Linked DNA regions of Homo sapiens: region 2 is linked to region 1. Evidence: promoter capture Hi-C in 16 types of primary human blood cells and fetal thymus (Javierre and others, 2016). All regions are on one chromosome and are shown on one strand. The core of a region is centred on a gene start or on the middle of the fragment in contact, and the rest is flanking DNA. Distances in the headings are between cores, read along the strand shown. Region 1 holds the start of SMARCC2 (SWI/SNF related BAF chromatin remodeling complex subunit C2). Region 2 overlaps ERBB3 (erb-b2 receptor tyrosine kinase 3).

What was found. The method cuts DNA at HindIII sites, captures the fragments that hold promoters and counts their contacts. A CHiCAGO score of 5 or more calls a contact.
Region 2: a contact is called between a fragment that was not itself captured here and the fragment with the promoter of SMARCC2 in region 1, in 1 of 17 cell types (M2 macrophages). The highest score is 6.8, in M2 macrophages.

The regions. Positions count from the first base shown.
Region 1 is chr12:56,187,493-56,192,463 of GRCh38, reverse strand. SMARCC2 (SWI/SNF related BAF chromatin remodeling complex subunit C2) reads left to right here and starts at 2,981. Exons shown (of 29, transcript NM_001330288.2): 1 at 2,981-3,113. The coding sequence starts at 3,003. TRS-CGA4-1 (tRNA-Ser (anticodon CGA) 4-1) reads right to left here and starts at 2,100; the gene lies at 2,019-2,100. LOC107984468 (a long non-coding RNA gene) reads right to left here and starts at 1,772. Exons shown (of 2, transcript XR_007063330.1): 1 at 1,238-1,772. RefSeq lists an enhancer at 2,335-2,434 and silencers at 2,675-2,954, 3,025-3,244. The HindIII fragment of the contact is 5,408 bases long and covers 1-4,925 here.
Region 2 is chr12:56,080,766-56,085,854 of GRCh38, reverse strand. It overlaps ERBB3 (erb-b2 receptor tyrosine kinase 3), which reads right to left. Exons shown (of 28, transcript NM_001982.4): 2 at 1,953-2,104; 3 at 674-860. Among named protein-coding and RNA genes, the nearest start is that of ERBB3, 3.1 kb to the right of the region's middle. RefSeq lists an enhancer at 5,043-5,089. The HindIII fragment of the contact is 4,298 bases long and covers 1-3,583 here.

The DNA.
Region 1 (4,971 bases), core at 1,732-4,231:
TGAAGGCTCTAGCTCAGCCTGCACTCACCCCTGAGAAAAGTGAGCATATTTGAGACATATTTAGAAGGTAAAATAAATGGAACCTGTTTCTATTTTATTTTAATTTTATTTTATTTGAGACAGAGTCTTGCTGCATCGCCCAAGCTGGAGTGCAGTGGCACGATCTTGGCTCACTGCAACCTCTGCCTCTTGGGTTCAAGTGATTTCTCCTACCTCAGCTTCCCAAGTAGCTGGGATTACAGGCGCCCGCCAACCACACCCAGCTAATTTTTGCATTTTTAGTAGAGATGGGATTTCACTACATTGGCCAGGCTGGTCTTGAACTCCTGACCTCGTGATCCGCCTGCCTCAGCCTCCCAAAGTGCTGGGATTACAGGCGTGAGCCACCACACCCACCCCTGTTTTTATTTTATTTTTATGTTAGCATATCAAGGGAGAAGTCCTTGCATGCAATTTAGTGAATGGTGGTGGTGGTAGACTGACAGGCAGCTGGAGTGATCAAGAGCATCAAAGAGGAGGGGCCTAAAGAATTTTGGAAAGTGTTAATGGTGAGGGACAGGGAGGCAATGTGAGGGTCATGCTGGAAATAACAGCCTGAGCAGTGGTATGAAGGTGGGAAACTCTAAGGTATAAATGTGTAGAAAGCTCTATGTATTACCCTAGAGCCCCCTGCCCTTTGGGATTCCTTTTGGACAAAAGGCTGTGCAAGAAATACAAAAAGAACATCCTTGGCCAGGCACAGTGGCTCACACCTGTAATCCCACCACTTTGGGAGGCTGAGGCAGGCGGATTGCTTGAGTCCAGGAGTTTGAGACCAGTCTGGGCAACATGGCGAAATCCCAGAACGCCGTCTCTACTAAAAATACAAAAAGTTAGCTGGGCGTGGTGGTGCATGCCTGTAGTCCCAGCTACTGAGGAGGGAGGATTGCTTGGGCCTGGGAGTTTGAGGTTGCAGTGAACTGAGATCGCACCAATGCACTCCAGCCTGGGCGACAGAGCGGGACCCTGTCACAAAAACAACCCCCCAAAACAAACAACAAAATCCTCAACAAGCAGCCTAGATCCTCCCCACAATCAGAAATTAGGGGATAGGAAAAATGGGGTGAGATGAGTATAGGAGGGTTAAAGGTTAAAGATGAGATTAATTTCCTTGCTTGGTTAATACACATAGATAATTTAAAACAGTATCTGGCACATAATAAGCACTCAATAAAAAGTGAGAATTATCTTCCCATACCTTGGCTCTAACTGGATCTGCAATGATGTTTCAATAGACTACTCCCTTCTAGCCCTGTACACCTCAAGGAAATCCAGATGAGAGAATCCTGTTTCCTGGGTCTTCGGTGTAATCAGACCTACAAGGTGTGACTTCTGGTCATGAAATTTAGAGGAAACTCTAAGTTTGACTAATATTGCAAAACAGCCACTCACATTCCCAAAATGTAACCCTTCAACCAAATCCTTCCCTATGCCCTCAAAAGAATGAGACATGTGCCAAAGCTCTCCCAGGAAGCCTGAAGTTACAAAATTCTGAAAATGCCTCACAGTCTAGCAGCCAATACAGTCGTGCATAATTAAACTTCCCAAGATCACTCCCATCCTCCCAAATCCAGGGGTTAAGACCTTTTGGCGGCTTCCCTTTTGGAGAGAGAAAGTGCACGAAAGAAACGTGTGAGAACTGGGGTTACCTTTATGTGCTGTGAAAGGGGTTAAAAAAGTCGACGCCTGTAATCCCAGCATTTTGGGAGGCCGAGGCGGGCAGATAACCTGAGGTCAGGAGTTTGAGACCAGCCTGGCCAATATGGTGAACCTGTCTCTACTAAAAATACAAAAATTAGCCAGGTATGGTGACGCATGCCTGTGGTCCCAGCTACTCGGGAAGCTAAGGCAGGAGAATTGCTTGAACCCGGGAAGCGGAGGTTGCGGTGAGCCGAGATCGCGCCACTGCACTCCAGCCTGAGCAACAGAGCGAGACTCCCTTTTAATAATAAGAAGAAGAAAGAAAAAAAAAAAAAACCCGTCACGAACAGGATTCGAACCTGTGCGGGGAAACCCCATTGGATTTCGAGTCCAACGCCTTAACCACTCGGCCACCGTGACTTCCAAAACCGCGCTTTATCGCGCGCTTACAGAAGGGGTCCGCACTGCAATCCGGGAATGCGTGCGGGAACCGGAAGCAGGGTACCGGCCCCGACACACACACACCTGAGGACTCCCCACCCCTCGGTTCCTTACCTCCTATCTACGCCACCCAAAGAAAAAGAGTCGGATGGACTGGGTGACCCAGGGAGGGAGGGTCTCCTGCCTAGCGAAGAGTCGGGGTCTCGAGTAGGAGCTCACACCTACTTAGGAGGCGACAGCGAGGCCTGCGGAGGAAGCAGTTGAGGGAAGGCACTGGGCCGCCAGGGTGGCGACTAGGGGACATTTGGGTTAACAAGTGAGGGGAGTGCTGGGTGGACAAGGCGCGAGGAGTGAGGGAGACTCTGAAAAGTTTAAATGGGGAGCTGCTGTGAATGGATGGAAGGAAGGAACTTCTTGGGGAAAGGGGTTTGGGGTTTTGGGGGACGAGGGGCTTCGTCGGGTTAGGAATGCGCAAGGTGAGGACCACTCGGGTCTACGGGTTGGGGCTGCTCCAGCGACTGGCGGCCGCCTGGAGTGGGATAGCGAGGTGACACTCCCGAGCTGAGGCAAAAAGAGGGAAAGGGCTTCGCGTCTGGTAAGAGCGATCTCAGGAGAATGGCGCCCCCTCCAGGAAGCGTCCTTCTCCCCGGAGGCTCCCGCCTCCGCTGCCGGGGAGGCCGCCAGGGTCGGCCCGCGCCTGGAGCTCCGCCGCCGCGCCCGGCCTGCCGGCAGGGGGCGCAGCGCGGACCGGGGCCGGCCCAGGCGGCGGGAGGCGGCGGCCGCGGCGGCGGGAGGCGGCGGGAGGCGGGCGGAGGAGGAGGCGGAGGAGGCGGGAGCTGAGCTGAGTGGGGCGGGCGGCGGCGGGGCCCGAGCCGGAGAAGATGGCGGTGCGGAAGAAGGACGGCGGCCCCAACGTGAAGTACTACGAGGCCGCGGACACCGTGACCCAGTTCGACAACGTGCGGCTGTGGCTCGGCAAGAACTACAAGAAGGTACGCGGGCCGGGCCGGGCCGCGCGGGGACCGGGGGCGGGACAAAGGGACCGCGGCCCTGCAGCCCCGGGATCCTGCCTACCCTCCAGGCGCCCCAGCCCCTCCCCCGCGGCCTCCCAAGCAGCCCCCCGCGCGCCCTCCTGCGCTCCCGCGCCCCTCCCCCAGCCTCCCTCTCCCCGCACCCCCAGCCTCTGAGCCCAGCCCCCGCCCCCACTGCTGCGCCCTCTGCCCCTTGTTTTTCTCTACTGCCCGGCGGGCCCCGGTGCCATTAGCCCACCTTCCCCTCAGCCATCGCCCTCCTGGCTTTTCTGGGAGAGGCGGCCGGCCGGGTGTGGACCGGGTGCCCAATGGGCTCCCCCGCAACCCGGAGCGTGCCCGCCAGAGCTCCCCACGGAGCCAGGTACCAGCGGGGCTGAGGCCTCTCCGGTGCTTTGTGTATGTTCAGAGAGAGAGAATGGAAAGCAGGAGGGTAAACAGTCACAGAGCAAGCCGTTGGCTGCTCATCAGCCTGAAAAAGGTCTCCACCCAGGGATCACCTGTCTCCGCCGCTCATCCCCCACCTTCATCTAAGGGGCAACAGAATCTCTCAGGGAGCCGGGGTATAGGAGTTCCTGGGTAGCGGCCCCTTCCGAAACCTTTCCTCGATTTTACAATGAAGTCACCTTGCAACCTAGCTTTGCAGTACCCTGGGTTTGGGGTCGAGAGGTTAGGGTGAGCTTCCTATCTCTAGCCCCTCACACCCAAACCCCATAACTGGAGATCATAAGGTGGTGAACAAAAGGTTCAAGAATCCTTACCTGTCTTTTCTACCAAACCTCTTCCTGGTGTCGTCTTTGTCTCTAGGCCTGGTTTTCTCTGGAAATGGTCTGCCTCTCTTTTTCTCACTACCCTCAGAGAGGGATTCTCTTTATGGCTTTCTTTCAGCTCCCCAGTTCTTCCTGCCGGCTTTGCAGCTCGTCAGAAGTGTGCTTAGTGGCTTAGGAGAACTTCCTACTGATGCTGGTTGTGAGCCTGGCCCTGCCCTTGGGGTCTCTCTGGGTGTGAGAATCCTGACAAATAGCTGCTATTTCTATGGCATGTCTCTACGCCTGTGAGAGGCTCTTATTCCCAGGCTTCTACCTTTGACCTTTTGCAGGGAGATCAGGCTAGGGGCTTAGCCTCCGGCCTTGGGGGAATTGACAGTTGTGACCTGGTTCAGCTTCCATGCTCTTAGCTCTTTGTCATTTACCTTTCCCTTCACAGATCTATCTCTTTTCACCTCTCACTGAGAGGCACTGTCTTCTTTGTGATGAGTGGGGAGAAAACGGGTCAAAAAGTAAAAAGAAAGTCTCCTGGCTCAGGTTCAAATTAGAATGGAAGGCTAGGATGCTACTAGGTAGCAGAGTGTGGAAACATAGAAGTAGGGCCAGGGTTACTTGTCTCAGATACAGTTTCCTCGGACAGGGTAGATGTTGTCTTGCTCTTCTCCATCAGGCTGGGTAGTGGATGGCCCTTCCTGTCTAGGAGGGCCTATGAAGACATTTATACCCAGTCTTCAGAAGCAAAATGCACAAGCTCACTCAGTCAACTTGCCCTCCTTCACTTCCTTGTACCTTTTCTTGTTAGGCTACATTATAGGGGGAATCATGGCTTTACAGAGTTCCCCTAAGAAATGTCTCTCTTAGAGCCCCAGAGGTATTGCTTCCATGACCTGAACTTTATAAACCTCCAGAATTTTACAACCCTCAGTGCTGTTGGTTAAAGATGAGGTGCCAAGATAATAGGGTCCTGCAACTCCAATTTCAGAGTATAACTGAGGAAGAGTAGTAAGCTTCCCTGTTCCCCCCAACACTGGCCACCTGGGCTGGTGGCAGCAGAA
Region 2 (5,089 bases), core at 185-2,684, 110 kb after region 1:
CTTGTGATCCACCTGCCTTGGCCTCCCAAAGTGCTGGGATTACAGGCGTGAGCCACCGCGCCCAGGCTTTTTTTTTTTTTTTTTTTTTTTTTTGAGACGGAGTCTCACTGTCACTTACGCTAGAGTGCAGTGGTGCAATCTCAGCTCACTGCAACCTCCACCTCCCAGGTTCAAGCGAGTCTCCTGCCTCAGCCTCATGAACAGCTGGGATTACAGGTGCGCACCACTATAGCCAGCTAATTTTTTATTTTATTTTATTTTTTTGTATTTTTAGTAGAGACAGGGTTTCGCCATGTTGGCCAGGCTGGTCTCAAACTCCTGATCTCAAGTGATCTGCCCTCCTTGGCCTCCCAAAATGCTGGGATTACAGGTGTAAGCCATCAGGCCTGGCCTCCGGTACACTGTACTTTGAAATTAGAAAAACGGTTAACAGATCCAGCTCTGACTCCAGCCCCACAAGGACACAGGGTTCCTTTCCCTGGAGCAGATGCCCCTAGCTCCCCCTACTGGGGGCCCTCTATTGCTTAGGGAGCAATGGACCTTTAGACAGCGGCCAAGGTGACAGGCACCTTGGAAGAGGCACTTAGAGTGAGCAGTCTTGGGTCATCATCAAGGAGGTACCAGTCTTGGGCTGGCTGAGGGGTGAGGCCAGAAGGAACCATCGGGAACTGACCGGTGAGCTGAGTCAAGCGGAGCTGGCGCAGAGCGTGGCTGGAGTTGGTGTTATAGTTCAACATGACGAAGATGGCAAACTTCCCATCGTAGACCTGGGTCCCTCGCACCACGCGGAGGTTGGGCAATGGTAGAGTAGAGAATTCATTCATGGCCACGAGGACATAGCCTGTCACTTCTCGAATCCACTGTGACAGAGCAGATTATGTAAATGAGAGAGACAACAGGGCAAAATAATCTCAATCTCCTCTCCTCCTTCAGGCATTAAAGACTCTTTAACTGTTTTAATTCTTCCTTCTTTCTTTCCTTTCTTTTTTTCTTTTTTTTAAAATTTGAGACGGAGTTACGCTCTTGTTGCCCAGGCTGGAGTACAATAGTGCGATCTTGGCTCACCACAACCTCCACCTCCCGGGTTCAAGCAATTCTCCTGCCGCAGCCTCCCAAGTAGCTGGGATTACAGGCATGTGCCACTACACCTGGCTAATTTTGTATTTTTAGTAGAGATGTGGTTTTTCCATGTTGGTCAGGCTGGTCTCGAACTCCTGACCTCAGGTGATCCGAGCTTGGCCTTTTTTTTTTTTTTTGGTGAGACAGGGTCTCGCTCTGTTACGAGTGGCACAATCTCGCTCACTGCAGCGTCAAACTCCTGGGCTCAAGCAATCCTCCCACCTCAGCCCTCCAAGTAGCTGGGACTACAGGTGCATGCCACCATACCCAGCTAATTTTTGTATTTTTGTAGAGACAGCGTTTCACCACATTGCCCAGGCTGGTCTTGAACTCCTGACCTCAAGTGATCTGCCTTCCTTGGCCTCCCAAAGTGCTGGGATTACAGGCATGAGCCACTGCACCTGGCCTTAACTCTTGCTAATTCCTATTTGGGAGTAGGGAGTAGACTGTGTCACACTGCTGTGTCACTTCTGGGAGTGAAGACAGGCAGCTTTCTCCTCAAAGTGCCTCATACCAGTAGGGCCCCTTCCTCATCTCCCCAGGTAACCTCTTGGTCCTCAGGTTTCTCTCTGCACTAGTCCCTGCTGACCTTGCACTATCCACAGAACACCACCTGCCCCTGACCCTGCCCCCTATATATCCCTGGCTACAACAGTGAGACCATAGGTCCCAGATGACAGCCACTGTCCCCATAAATACACGGTTTTGAATCTTAGGAACTCCTGAGTCTTAGGAAGGGTGAACTCCAGCAGAAGGTAGCCCTGAAGAAGGAAGGAGGGTTCTAGGGGAGAATAAAGAGGAGCAGGTTGAGGAAGGAGGGTGGGCTCACTAACCTGCAGGAAGGAGAGGTCGGCATTGTGTCCCGTGAGCACAATCTCAAGGTTCCCCATCACCACCTCACACCTCTCGTAGAGCTTGTACAGTGTCTGGTATTGGTTCTCAGCATCGCCGGTCACACTCAGGCCATTCAGAGTCCCAGGACACACTGTTCAAAGCAGAGGGAAGAGTGGCTGAGGGCTGGACACAAATTCTCAGCCCATCTGCCATCCCCAAAGATCACCCCCTTGGTTGCCCTCTTCCAGTTACATTAGACAGGATCAGATGGCATTTGCCTCCAACCCTCCCACAAGCGATAGGCAGAAGCTGTAGTGGCCTGAGAGCTTTCTCTCTTCTCAGAATCCCCTTACCATTCCATGAATGGGAAGGTGAAAAGATTTCCTTTTTCAACCTGGGACCCCTCTGTGCTTCTTTTGGGTACTAAGGGGTTAACTGAGAAGGAAGACAGGGAATTTGTTTCTCTCCCTAGAAAAGAGAAGTTAGGAAAAGGCCGCAACTTTGATTACCCTCCTCTCCCCCTCCAACTAGGGCACTCACTTCTCTACCCTCATCCTGCCTCTCTCTAGGTCCTGGAATAAATATCTCTTTGGGACTAGTACACAGCCCCTATTGTGTCTACTGAGGGTGGGATGGGGGCAGAGGGTGGGGGCAGTGCCTGGGGCCACAGTCCAGCCCACAATGAGGCGATTCTATCCAGGAGGGGGGCTGCCCCACCCTGTCCCTAGACACCCCGTCCTCAGCAGCACTCCCCTCCACCCTCAAGCCTTGGGCTCAGACAAGTGACCTCAGTAGAGGGGGGAGCTCTGGCAGTGCTGGGGTGAGGGGGGGTCAATGGGAGCTTTGTCTTTAAAGCTGAAAGATAAGGAGCTAGTTGCCTCCCCGCCTTCCTAAACTCAGGGTTTCCTTCTCACTCTCTCCCCCATCCCAACACACTCTAGCAACCTCAGCATCACTTTCCAGCCCTAGAGTATTTTTCAGCAAATACAGAGGAACCTGGAGAGAGATAGTAGCAGATGCCCCATATTGAGCCTCCACACAATTTCATTGTTAGAAGAGGTTCATGAAAAAGCCTTTCACCATGGCAATCCTCACCCACACTAGGGGAGAGCCTAGACTAGAGGTACATGGCATGTCAGCCTTGGGAGTTCACTCTTCTTTGCAAATGTGGTGGACAACGGGCTATGGGAAGTCCTGGACTCTGAAGCCCTACCCCAGTCTCTTTCCTCTGGTTCAGGGAAAGACCATGTGTGGGGTGGGGAGTAGGGGGTAGATACCACCTGTTCCAGCCACCCTTCCCTGAGGCGGTGGTAGCTCAGTGGGAGGCAACAGTGGGAATGGAGGGAGGGAGACTGGTGAGGCCCCAATCCCTCCTATAACATACACCCCTAGTCTGACTTCTTGACCTTGGAGGGCTCCTTATCACTCCCCATGAAGGTTGGCTAGTCCCAGCAAAGAGAGCTAGTTCCAGAGGAGCTGGGAACTCCAGGGTCCTTGGGTTGAAATGAAAGAGACTAGGAAGGTTAGTCATTTCTGGAACAGCCCCACCCCAATCCCCTTCCTGGCAGGATACCCCCTTTCCCAAGTTATAGTGCCAACACTTCTCCCCAGATAAGGGAGGAGCCAAGCTTTCTGCACAGGGAAGTAGTAGTGTGGGCACACACATACACACACAATGTACACACGAACACGTACACATTGGTCCTGCTGGCTCAGGAATCTATAGTTGGGTTTCCTTGCAGGAAGTATTTCAGGTGGCCCCATCTATCCCACGTGCCCATAAGTGTTTGTGCAGACTTTGTGTCTGTGCTTGGAAGGCTACAGTGTTAGAGGTAGCCCAGTTCCCTGCTACCCTGAGGGTAAAGTCCATATTACACAAACAGGGGGCAAAGGGCCTGGGCAGGAAGGGAGCACAAACAACACCTCTGGGGAGGAGCTAGGCAGCTTGGGGAGCAGGGCAGGGGAAGGGAATCATAAAAATCCCTGCTGTACCCAGGAACCGGGAGCATAGGGAGGGGCAGTGTCACAGGCCCTCCTTTGGTAGAGAGCACTAGGGGTGGGATAGAGCCAGAATCTCCAGCCCCTCCTCAACCAGAGGCCTCCCCTCCAACATCCCCCACCCCCATCACAGCCAGGACAAAGGGGCTATAGAAGGACTGAGACAGGGCCGGATGCCCAGAGGCTGCAGGACCCAGATAAAGGGTAAAGAGACCCAACCATGCCTGCCTCCTGCCTCCCCAGGGAGGGTGGCCAGACTCTGGTACTCCTGGGTTTCTGGGTGAAGATTGCAGGAGTCTGGATGGGACAGTTATACAGTCACTCCACTGCTCCCTCCCACGCCAGTCCCCAGACCACCCCCCTCCACCAGCTGGGAGTGTTCACATCTAAAAATCCCAGGATCTAAATTTAGGCCCAGCAACTGTGAGGGAAGCACAGGTGGTTTCTTCCACTCCCACACTGGGGAAGGGGCCCTGGCTGTGCCAAACCCCAAGCTGAGATCTGAGGGGAGGGGAGGAGATCCACAGAACTTCAGTCCTCAGGTGTCCACGGTCCCAGAGACACCCCAAAGGGGTGGGCTCAGATAGCATGGGAGTCGGGGGAGGACTGGAGAAGAGCAATCCGGGGCTCTGTCTAGGGTCCTAGAGACAGTGTCAGACAATAAGCAAAATGGGGGCGGGAGGCACAAGCTGAGCCCAGGAAGGACTCCCCAAGGCAGGAGGCTTAGAAAGTAGCAGAGGTGCCCTCTTGATCCTCAGGTTGGGGAGAGAAAAGACCAGAGGCTGGACATCCTTGCCCTTACAGCTCCTGGCCCAGGGCCTTGTGTATAGTAGATGCTCAATAAATATGAGTTGTGTTGACCTGGGTCTTGACAAAGAGATGTTGCTTAAGCTCTGCTATACTGAGGAAAGGGGGCGCCAGCCTCTGTTGGGCCTCCTGCCTGATGTCACCTGAACTTGGCCCTCTGGTTAATCTCAGACCTCCCCAGGGCAGGCTCACTCACGGAAGAGGAGGTGCCGCTCCTGTTTTTCCAACACCAGAGAACAACAACCCCCTCCAACCTTCTGTAGCTCCGCCCTGTCGGCAAAACAACGAAACTAGGGGTAGCTGAAATCGGCGCGGGTGGGGGGCAGGGGGT